Linked DNA regions of Homo sapiens: regions 1 and 2 are each linked to region 3. The links are contacts of gene promoters, found by promoter capture Hi-C in blood cells and fetal thymus (Javierre and others, 2016). All regions are on one chromosome and are shown on one strand. The core of a region is centred on a gene start or on the middle of the fragment in contact, and the rest is flanking DNA. Distances in the headings are between cores, read along the strand shown. Region 1 overlaps SH3PXD2A (SH3 and PX domains 2A). Region 2 overlaps SH3PXD2A (SH3 and PX domains 2A). Region 3 holds the start of CFAP58-DT (CFAP58 divergent transcript).

Region 1 (2,700 bases), core at 72-2,571, 640 kb before region 3:
TGGTGACCATGGCAACCATGGCGTCCTGATGCAGTTATTCTGCCCTTCTGTCTGATGAAGGGTCCCATCCTGAAATTTGGAGCTAGTTGCCCCAGCCAAGGGTCAGGTGCTTCTCACTTCATCCTCAGCTCACCCCCGTGTGGGGTGTGGACTTGGAGCTGAAGGGCAATGGCATGAGTCCAGCCTCTGACACTTCCTAGCTGAGAGGTAAGTCAACCAGTCTCAGCCTAAGGTCCCTCATCTGCAGAAAGGAGCATGGGCCTCCCTGGATTGTACGGATGCTCAAACAAGATAAACCATGCTCAAGGGTCCAGCACGGCTTTAGTACAGCATCAGCCAGACGCTGGGAGCTGTAATATCCGATATGGCCATGGGGTGGAGCCAGATACACATGTATCTCATGAACCGAGGGCTTCAAAGTGACCCAAAGTTACAGACGTGCCCAAACTCCAACCACCCTCAAGATCCAACTTACAGAGCCTGTGAAGGGGAAGGAGTCACAAGGTCTCTGGATGCTTGTCCCTTTCATCTCGGACTATGTCTATGAATATCTCCCATTCCCACAGCCATCCAGCCCCTCTCTAGATCCTGACTGTTGCATGCTTGGACCACTGCAATAGCCAACTGGTTCTGCTAGGACCTCAGAATGTCAGAGCCAGGAGATAGCCCAGAGACCCCTAGGTTCTGCCCATTTACCTGATGCTGAAGTGTAGCGATTGTTAATGACTGCCTCAGGCCTATCTCTTCTTGGCCTAGCCCTAGCCAAAAATCCCTTACTCTCACGGAAGATGAAATTTCTTTCAATCCTTGAAACACAATCTCAGGGACTCCCTCTGGCCTGGATGCCCTCCTCTGCCACTCTCCTTGAGTAGTGAGCTCTTGCTTTAGTCTCAGCCTGAATGCCACCTCCTCAGGGAGGCCTTCCTGACCACCTCAGCAGGCTGGTTTGTTGCTGCGCAAGGCCCTGCACCTATTACAATCAGTTGTTCTTTTTCTGTCTTCCCCATTATCAGCAGCTGTTATAAGCCCTGTTTTATAGGCAAGGACATTGAGGTTTTGGGAGTTTAAATAATTCCCAGGCCACACAGCAGGTGGGGGAGGAGCCAGGGTTTGCCAGAGCCTATAATGGTCTGCTGCCTCCTGTGGAAGCAAGCCAGGCCCATGCCATGCTATCCTCCCCCTTAGACCACCAGGGCCCCGAGAGTGGGGACTGAGCTACTTCTGAAGTCCCGGGCCTCACATAGAGATGATCTAGAAACACTTGCATGAACACACGCCTCCCACAAGAATGCAACAGAGGAAGGCTGGTCCCAGTGGCCGAAGACCCAGGTTCTAGGTTCAGTTCTGCCTTAAACTCCCCATGGAGGGGTAACTACCCAGGGACTAGGAACATGGAGGGTAGTGATAACCACAGGGGAACCAAGACCCACCTTGAACACAACATAACAGCAAAGCAGGCCTCAGCGCTCTTCCAGGGCTTACCCCTTCCGCCAGAGGCTCCAAAGGGCTCTGTAGGCCTTCCTTGGGGGTAAGAGAGTGGGCACATGGGGGTCTTGAGGTTTCAGAGAACATAGAATGCACAAGCCCAAGAAATTAATGGGGGACCCAGTCTACCCCCACACACTCCTGCACCAGGATACCCTTCCCTGCCACCTTCCTCCCCACCCTGAAGAAAATCCTGTGCCAGGCCTGAAAACAGAGTCATCTTCTCTCCCTGGACATGGGCCTCCCAGGCGTGTGCGCTATGAGCTGGGCTGGACTGGGGGTGTTTGAATCTGCTTCCCTCCAGCTCGCCGACCCAGCATGACAGCTGAGCCTGCAGAAGTCCTTGTTCCCCACGGCCAATGCCCCTTTCAAGTGGGTTGGACACAGCTTCCTGTGGGCATTTTCCTGCCACCTGCCCACCCAGGTTGAAGGGGGCATGGCAGGGGATGGACAAGGTTTATTTATCTAACGTTCTGTTCCCTCCCTCAGCCTCCCACAGCTCCAAGGTCCAGCTGGCCCTCCTGCCCATCAACATAAAGAGGCTATTTGTGCAGCAGCCAGTGGCAGGGGGCTGCAAGGACAGTGTGGCCCACGTCCCTGGCCAGATGGGTGGTGGCAGGGCTTTACAGAGCACACAGAGCCATCTTGATGATAGGTGTCTGACCAGAATGCAGCCAGGCATGTGTGGGTGGACTTTCTACCCCAATCCCCCAGGAGAGACAGGGACTTGGGATGCCCTGGAGTTTCCAACAGCCTGCAGGGTGGTAGGGGCAGCCTCGCTCCACAGGCAGCACCAGCCCTGGCCAGGACTCCCAGAGCAGAGAGGGATGCGGTGAGATGCTCCTCTCCCAGCTCTCACCTTCAGCTCGGCCAACCCAATTCCATTCCCCCAGCCTTTTTGGGGTGGCTGCTCTGTACCCAGGCCTGGGCTAATGGAGGAAAGGAGAAGAAAAACAGAAAATCCCATTTCCTGAGCTTTTGTGATGGGTTAAGTACATAGGGGCATTTTCTACGCATTTGCTCCCTTGAACCTCACAATCATTTTGCCACATGTACCACGGGGGCCTTGCACAGATGGGGAAACAGACTGGAAGAGGAGAAGTGAGCCATTCAAGCTCACAGGCAGAGCTGGGTGTCCCCACAGTTGCCACTGCAGTTAATTTAACTCAATTCACAATTTCAGCTTTGACCCTTGAGGTGATTAGCCTACGCGGT
Region 2 (2,700 bases), core at 97-2,596, 660 kb before region 3:
GCCAGGCACAGTAGCTCACGCCTGTCATCCCAGCACTTTGGGAGGCTGAGATGGGTGGATCACTTAAGGTCAGGAGTTCGAGACCAGCCTGGCCAAAATGGTGAAACCTTGTCTCTACTAAAACTGCAAAAATTAGCCAGGTGTGGTGGCAGGTGCCTGTAATCCCAGCTACTCGGGAGGCTGAGGCAAGAGAACCACTTGAACCCAGGAGGCGGAGGTTGCAGTGAGCTAAGGTCATGCCACTGCACTCCAGCCTGGGCAACAGGGGAGAATCTGTCTCAAAGAAACAAAAAACAAAAAACGAGTGACTTCTAGATGTTGGGCTTGAGCAATGGGGTGGATGGTGCCAGTTCCTGAGATGGGGAAGATGCTGGAAGGAGCAGGTTCAATAGAGGGAAGAAAGATGCAGATAAATTTGAGGCCAAACTGTCCTTCAGTTTTCAAGGTCACCAGCCTTGCTTCCTCCAGAAAGTTCCTGAGAACTTTCTTCTTCTGTTGACTCCACCATCCCTAAGCCTTGCCTCAAGTCTAAGCTCTATGCTCAGTAAGAGATTTACAGTGAACCCCAGAATGGCATCCATTTCCTCTGCGCAAATGTCCCTGGCTGGAGTGACCCTGGGAAGCTTCGTGAGGTTCATTATAGAGCAGAACAGAGCCCTAAACATGGACTCCAATCCTCAGTTTGCCAAGGACTGTGTGTGGGCAGTCACCCCATCGGAGCCTCAGCTTCTCATTTGCAAAATGGGAATCCCACCACCCATCATGTACTGTGGCTCTGATCAGCAAATGAGGAAACGTGAAAATGTCCTCGCACATAGTAGATGCTCATTCGATAACAGCATCTAGCACTTCCAGGGGAGCTTTCTAGGTGGCAGGCAGTGTTCTAAACATGCTTACATATATTAGTTTATCTAATCTTCGTTATAACCATATGAGGTGTGTATTAGTCAGTGTTCTCCAGAGAAACAGAACCAATGGGAGGTGCATAGAGAGCTTGAAGACAGAGGGAGATTTATTTTAGGAACTGGCTTATGTGATTGTGGAGGTTTGAGAGTCCAAAATGTGATGGGGGAGGCCGGCAGAGACTAAGGGAAGAGCTGCAGCTGAGTCCAAAGGCAGCTGCTGGCAGAACTCCTCCTTGCTGAGGGAGGGTGTGTGTGTGTCAGTCTTTGTTCCATTAAGAGGCCTTCAACCAATTGGATGAGGCTAGCCTGCATTATGGAGAGTAATCTGCTTTACTCAAAATCCACTGATTTATTTAAATATGAATCTCACCTAGAAAACACCTTTGCAGAAACATCTAGAATAATGCTTGACCAAATATCTGGGCACTGTGGCCCAGCCAAGTTGACACATAATAAACCATCACAAAATGGGTATGAATATTATCCCAAATGTACAGAAGAAGTAATGGGCACAGAGAGGCTAAGAAATCTACCCAAGGTCACAGAGGAGAGAAGCCAGACTCTCAACTCCAGCTGTCTGGCTTCAGAGCTGGCATTTTCAACCATGACACTAAGTGGCCATTATCATAAGCACACCAATATAAATTAAATTTCTCCATCCATCCTTTTCCTGGCGTGAGAGTGGAAGACAGAGAAACTGGGGGTTGGCTTTCCCTGGGGGAGGCAGCCTGGGTGTGGCCCTGCATTGCTTAGGAAGCAGCACAGAAGCTGAGCCCCAGAGATTGTGGCGGGGGACCTGAGAGGTTATTTGTTCCAGCTCTTGCCTTTATGGGGGTAACTGAGGCCCAGCATAGAGAAGGAATTTGCCCAAGGTCACATAGGGAGAAAAGTGGCAATGGAGGCAGGACTAGGTCCCAGGCCTTCAGAAAGTGCTACTGCTGCTGCTGCTGAGAACTGATACTTGTACAGTAGTTATTCGGTGCCAGGACTATTCCACATTAACATACTTAATCCTCTATGTGTGAGGCAGATAACATTAGCATTTTTGTTTTAAAGAAAATGAGGAAACTGAGGCACAGAGAAGTTATGAAACTTGCCTAAGGTCACACAGAGCCAGAATTTGAGCCCAGGTTCAACCAGGACACTATACGTCTGAGGCCCAGGGCAAGCTTCCTGTGTGGGCGGTGACAGAACACAACCCCCATTTTGCTGCGCCTTCCATTCTCCCACTTGAGACCTGCCTGGAGTGACAGTGGAGGAATGCTCTTCCCCAGGCTCACCCCACGGTTCACAGGAGGAAATGGCCTTCTGCACCAGTGGGTGTGCCTGCCTGAGACACCCCAGACCCAGGTGATAGGCAAGTGCACACACACCTCATCCCACAGCTAGACATGTCCCAAACTGGTACACAAATACACACAAACACAGACTCCAACCCATAACCAGATATATCTCAACCACACACACACCCCCAGCCTATGCACCCAAACAAGTAAACATACCCTCACAGCACACAGCTATCATGACTCACACATGTGCACAGAACCCCACAGCCACACACGCCCCCAACACATAAACCAGGACACAACTTTCCCTGTCCCAATAGGCACGTGAGCAAGCACTTGTACACACAGAAACATACATATCATACAATTACATCTACCCCACTCTACATCCATCCACCACACAGGGGCACTCCCCTCAACCTATCCACAGGCCAAGGCACTTGGGCACAGGAGCCATTCACAGGAGCCACGTGTTACCTCCTACATCCCCAAGGGCCAGATGTACCCCA
Region 3 (2,700 bases), core at 132-2,631:
TTATGAGTGTTTAATAAAAAAGACCTATCACCTTCTGGAAGGGATGGATGGAAGTGTTGGATGGAAACCCCACACTGGAGTGCAGCGTAGGGCAGTAACTCTGGTACACAATCTTAAAGTGCTTGGTAAGTACCCAGGGCTTGTACTAGGCTACTGGGCATCGTTGTGCTCTTGGAAAACTGTTCATCTGGCCAGATGAGTTTGAAAATATCACACCCTCTAGATAGTTACAGCCTTCTAGGTTCATGACTTGGCTGGCGTACAGAGATTTTGTGAGAATAAAAAGTGCACACCTTTCTCCAGTAGGGCACATGGCACGGGAAAGAGAGTAGAGACAGTTTTTCAGCCTCCATTGCCCCATGGCTGGATGTGTTTGTGCAGGACGCAGCTGCATAAGCAAATGTCCCTGTGCATCCCTATAACTTTAACAATCTTACTCCTTGGCATATATTTCAGAGGAATTTGCACAGAGGTCCTTAAGGGACCACGGACAAAGACGATCATGGCTGTATTACTTGATGTATTGGAGAATTAGAGGCGGCCTTGTTACCTAACACCTGGGGAATGGAAGTGAAGTGTGGTAGATGCCCCTTATGAAACGCTGTGCAGTACTCAGAAGCAATGAACTATATGCTTGCCAATCGCAACGAGGACAGATCCTTAAAAAGAATGTTGAGTGAAAAAAGTAGAAAATAAGATAATCTCCAAAGTCCAGTAGCATTATTTAAACATTTTTAAAAAATACACTGATAAAAATTTTGTACATTTCCCAAAAATACATATGGAAGCACAGCAGCATGAATGCCTATGGGGTTGAGGATAGGGGTTGGGAGTAGGGATGGGGATAAAGGGGGAAAATAAAACCAGAGAGGAGTCTTACACATTTCATGAACCAAGGAGTATAATTATTTCAACTATTTGTACCTGAAGTCCAGAAAGAGTGGAGGCAGAAGGGGGAGAAGAGGGCGAAGAAACGTTTTTGGGAGAGGGGTCCCAGAAGAGAGATTTTCGCGATGTGGCGCTACATACGTTTTTCCAGGATGCCTTAAGCTCTGCACCCTATTTTTCTCATCACTAATATTAGATTAAACCCTTTGAAGACAGCGTCTGTGGTTTCTCTACTTCAGCTTTCCCTCCGTGTCTTGCACACAGTAGCTGTTTTACAAGGGTTGAACTGACTGAAGTGAGATTATTCCTCGTTGTCTCGGAAGGCAGAGTGTAGCCGCCAGTCCTTCCCTCATCCGGAACCTTCTGGTCCACATTTCCTTCCAAGCGTTAGTCCTCGGCTCTCCATGCTTGGCTCCCTAGTGTCACACACCGTCCTTTCTGGGTGGCCTCTTCCAATTCGCCCTCTTCTTTCTCCTGGGTGTCTCCATCTGCCCACACCGTGGGACTCCTCCCAGCCTCTCAGGGGCACCGCCCCCTCACTTCCTTGGCTCCGCCCCATTGGGATATATTTGCATATTTCTCTGAGGAACCCTGCCCAGGTGCCAGCCGCAGAAGCTCCTCCCCTTTCGAATTCCCGCTAGCGCCCCTAGAGGGCGTGTCCGTTGCCAGGCGACGGGCCGACGCGCCGAGCGCGGGTTTCCGCTCGGGGCGGGCGATAGAGACAGCGCGTCGCGCCTTTAGCTTCTTTCCCAGACTCCGGCCCAGCTCCTGCGATCTCCACAGCAGCCTCTGAGGCCGCCCCCAGAGAGCATCAGGATGGCTGAGGTCAGGAGTCAGCGCCCCTCTGTCGCCTTTCCCTTGACCCCTCCCCATTGTCCCTCTCCTACTGACGATTGTCACAAACGGTGATTCCAATATTTCCCCCCATCAACATCTTATTCCCCTGCACCCTCACTCACTCCCGCGCCTTTCTCCGTTGGCTCTGGCCTCTTTACCTCCTGTTTCTCCTTCATTTGTGTGGACACCCCACTATCCCCACTGTGGCATCGGCGCTATGCTAAGTGCGGTAGAAAATTAATGAATTCTGAAATCCACACGTGACATGCACCCAGCCCTAGATTTTTAGTCATGGAGTGATACCATAAGAGAGGCTCACACAGAAATATTGGAGATGTCTTATCTCACAGGGGAAACCGGGAAGAAAGCTTCACAGATGCCTGCTGTCATCCCAATCAATGGCCCTTGTCCACCTGTCACACCCTGATTTCCTAACATGTGATCACCTGCTGTCACACAGCTTCATTAAGGCTCTTCTGCCCATCACCTCTGCCCCGTGTGTTCATTGACTCCTGTGTTAACATCTCGTATCACCCCACCACTCCCCCATATTACAGTACACCCCATTTTCAGCCTCTCCAATGAGGGGTTATTTCTGCAACCCTTCAGTGACTCCCTGCCTGCCCCTTAGCCCCCTCACGTATAACCTCAAGAGCCTCGGGTCCCTGTCATTACTTGCCATTCACAGTCCCCATCCACTATGGCCCTACCCAAATCCTTCATGGCCCCATCAGAGCCCTTCCCCCATCACCCATCCCACGGTCTGTTCCAGCCAGGACCAGCTACATGATTTGCAAGGCCTGATGCAAAGTGAAAACACAAAGTCTCTTCAAAAATTACAAATAATTTTAAGACAGAACAGCAGAGCATTCAACCAAGAATGGGGCCTTTCTGAGCAAGGGGCCCTGTGCAACTGACCAGTTTTCACTCCCATGAAGCCAGCCCAAGCCCCATCATCTTTCAGCACCATCGTGC

What was found. The method cuts DNA at HindIII sites, captures the fragments that hold promoters and counts their contacts. A CHiCAGO score of 5 or more calls a contact.
Region 1: a fragment that was not itself captured here is called in contact with the fragment with the promoter of CFAP58-DT in region 3 in 1 of 17 cell types (fetal thymus); the score reaches 5.1 in fetal thymus.
Region 2: a contact is called between a fragment that was not itself captured here and the fragment with the promoter of CFAP58-DT in region 3, in 1 of 17 cell types (naive B cells). The highest score is 5.1, in naive B cells.

What each region holds. Positions count from the first base shown.
Region 1 is chr10:103,712,717-103,715,416 of GRCh38, forward strand. All of the region lies in intron 5 of SH3PXD2A (SH3 and PX domains 2A), which reads right to left. Among named protein-coding and RNA genes, the nearest start is that of SH3PXD2A-AS1, 33 kb to the right of the region's middle. The HindIII fragment of the contact is 8,786 bases long and covers 1-2,700 here.
Region 2 is chr10:103,689,384-103,692,083 of GRCh38, forward strand. All of the region lies in intron 6 of SH3PXD2A (SH3 and PX domains 2A), which reads right to left. Among named protein-coding and RNA genes, the nearest start is that of SH3PXD2A-AS1, 56 kb to the right of the region's middle. RefSeq lists an enhancer at 2,511-2,570. The HindIII fragment of the contact is 1,451 bases long and covers 622-2,072 here.
Region 3 is chr10:104,352,194-104,354,893 of GRCh38, forward strand. It overlaps CFAP58-DT (CFAP58 divergent transcript), which reads right to left and starts at 1,382. Exons shown (of 2, transcript NR_108036.1): 1 at 925-1,382. CFAP58 (cilia and flagella associated protein 58) reads left to right here and starts at 1,640. Exons shown (of 18, transcript NM_001008723.2): 1 at 1,640-1,713. The coding sequence starts at 1,705. RefSeq lists enhancers at 1-32, 1,310-1,369. The HindIII fragment of the contact is 7,343 bases long and covers 1-2,091 here.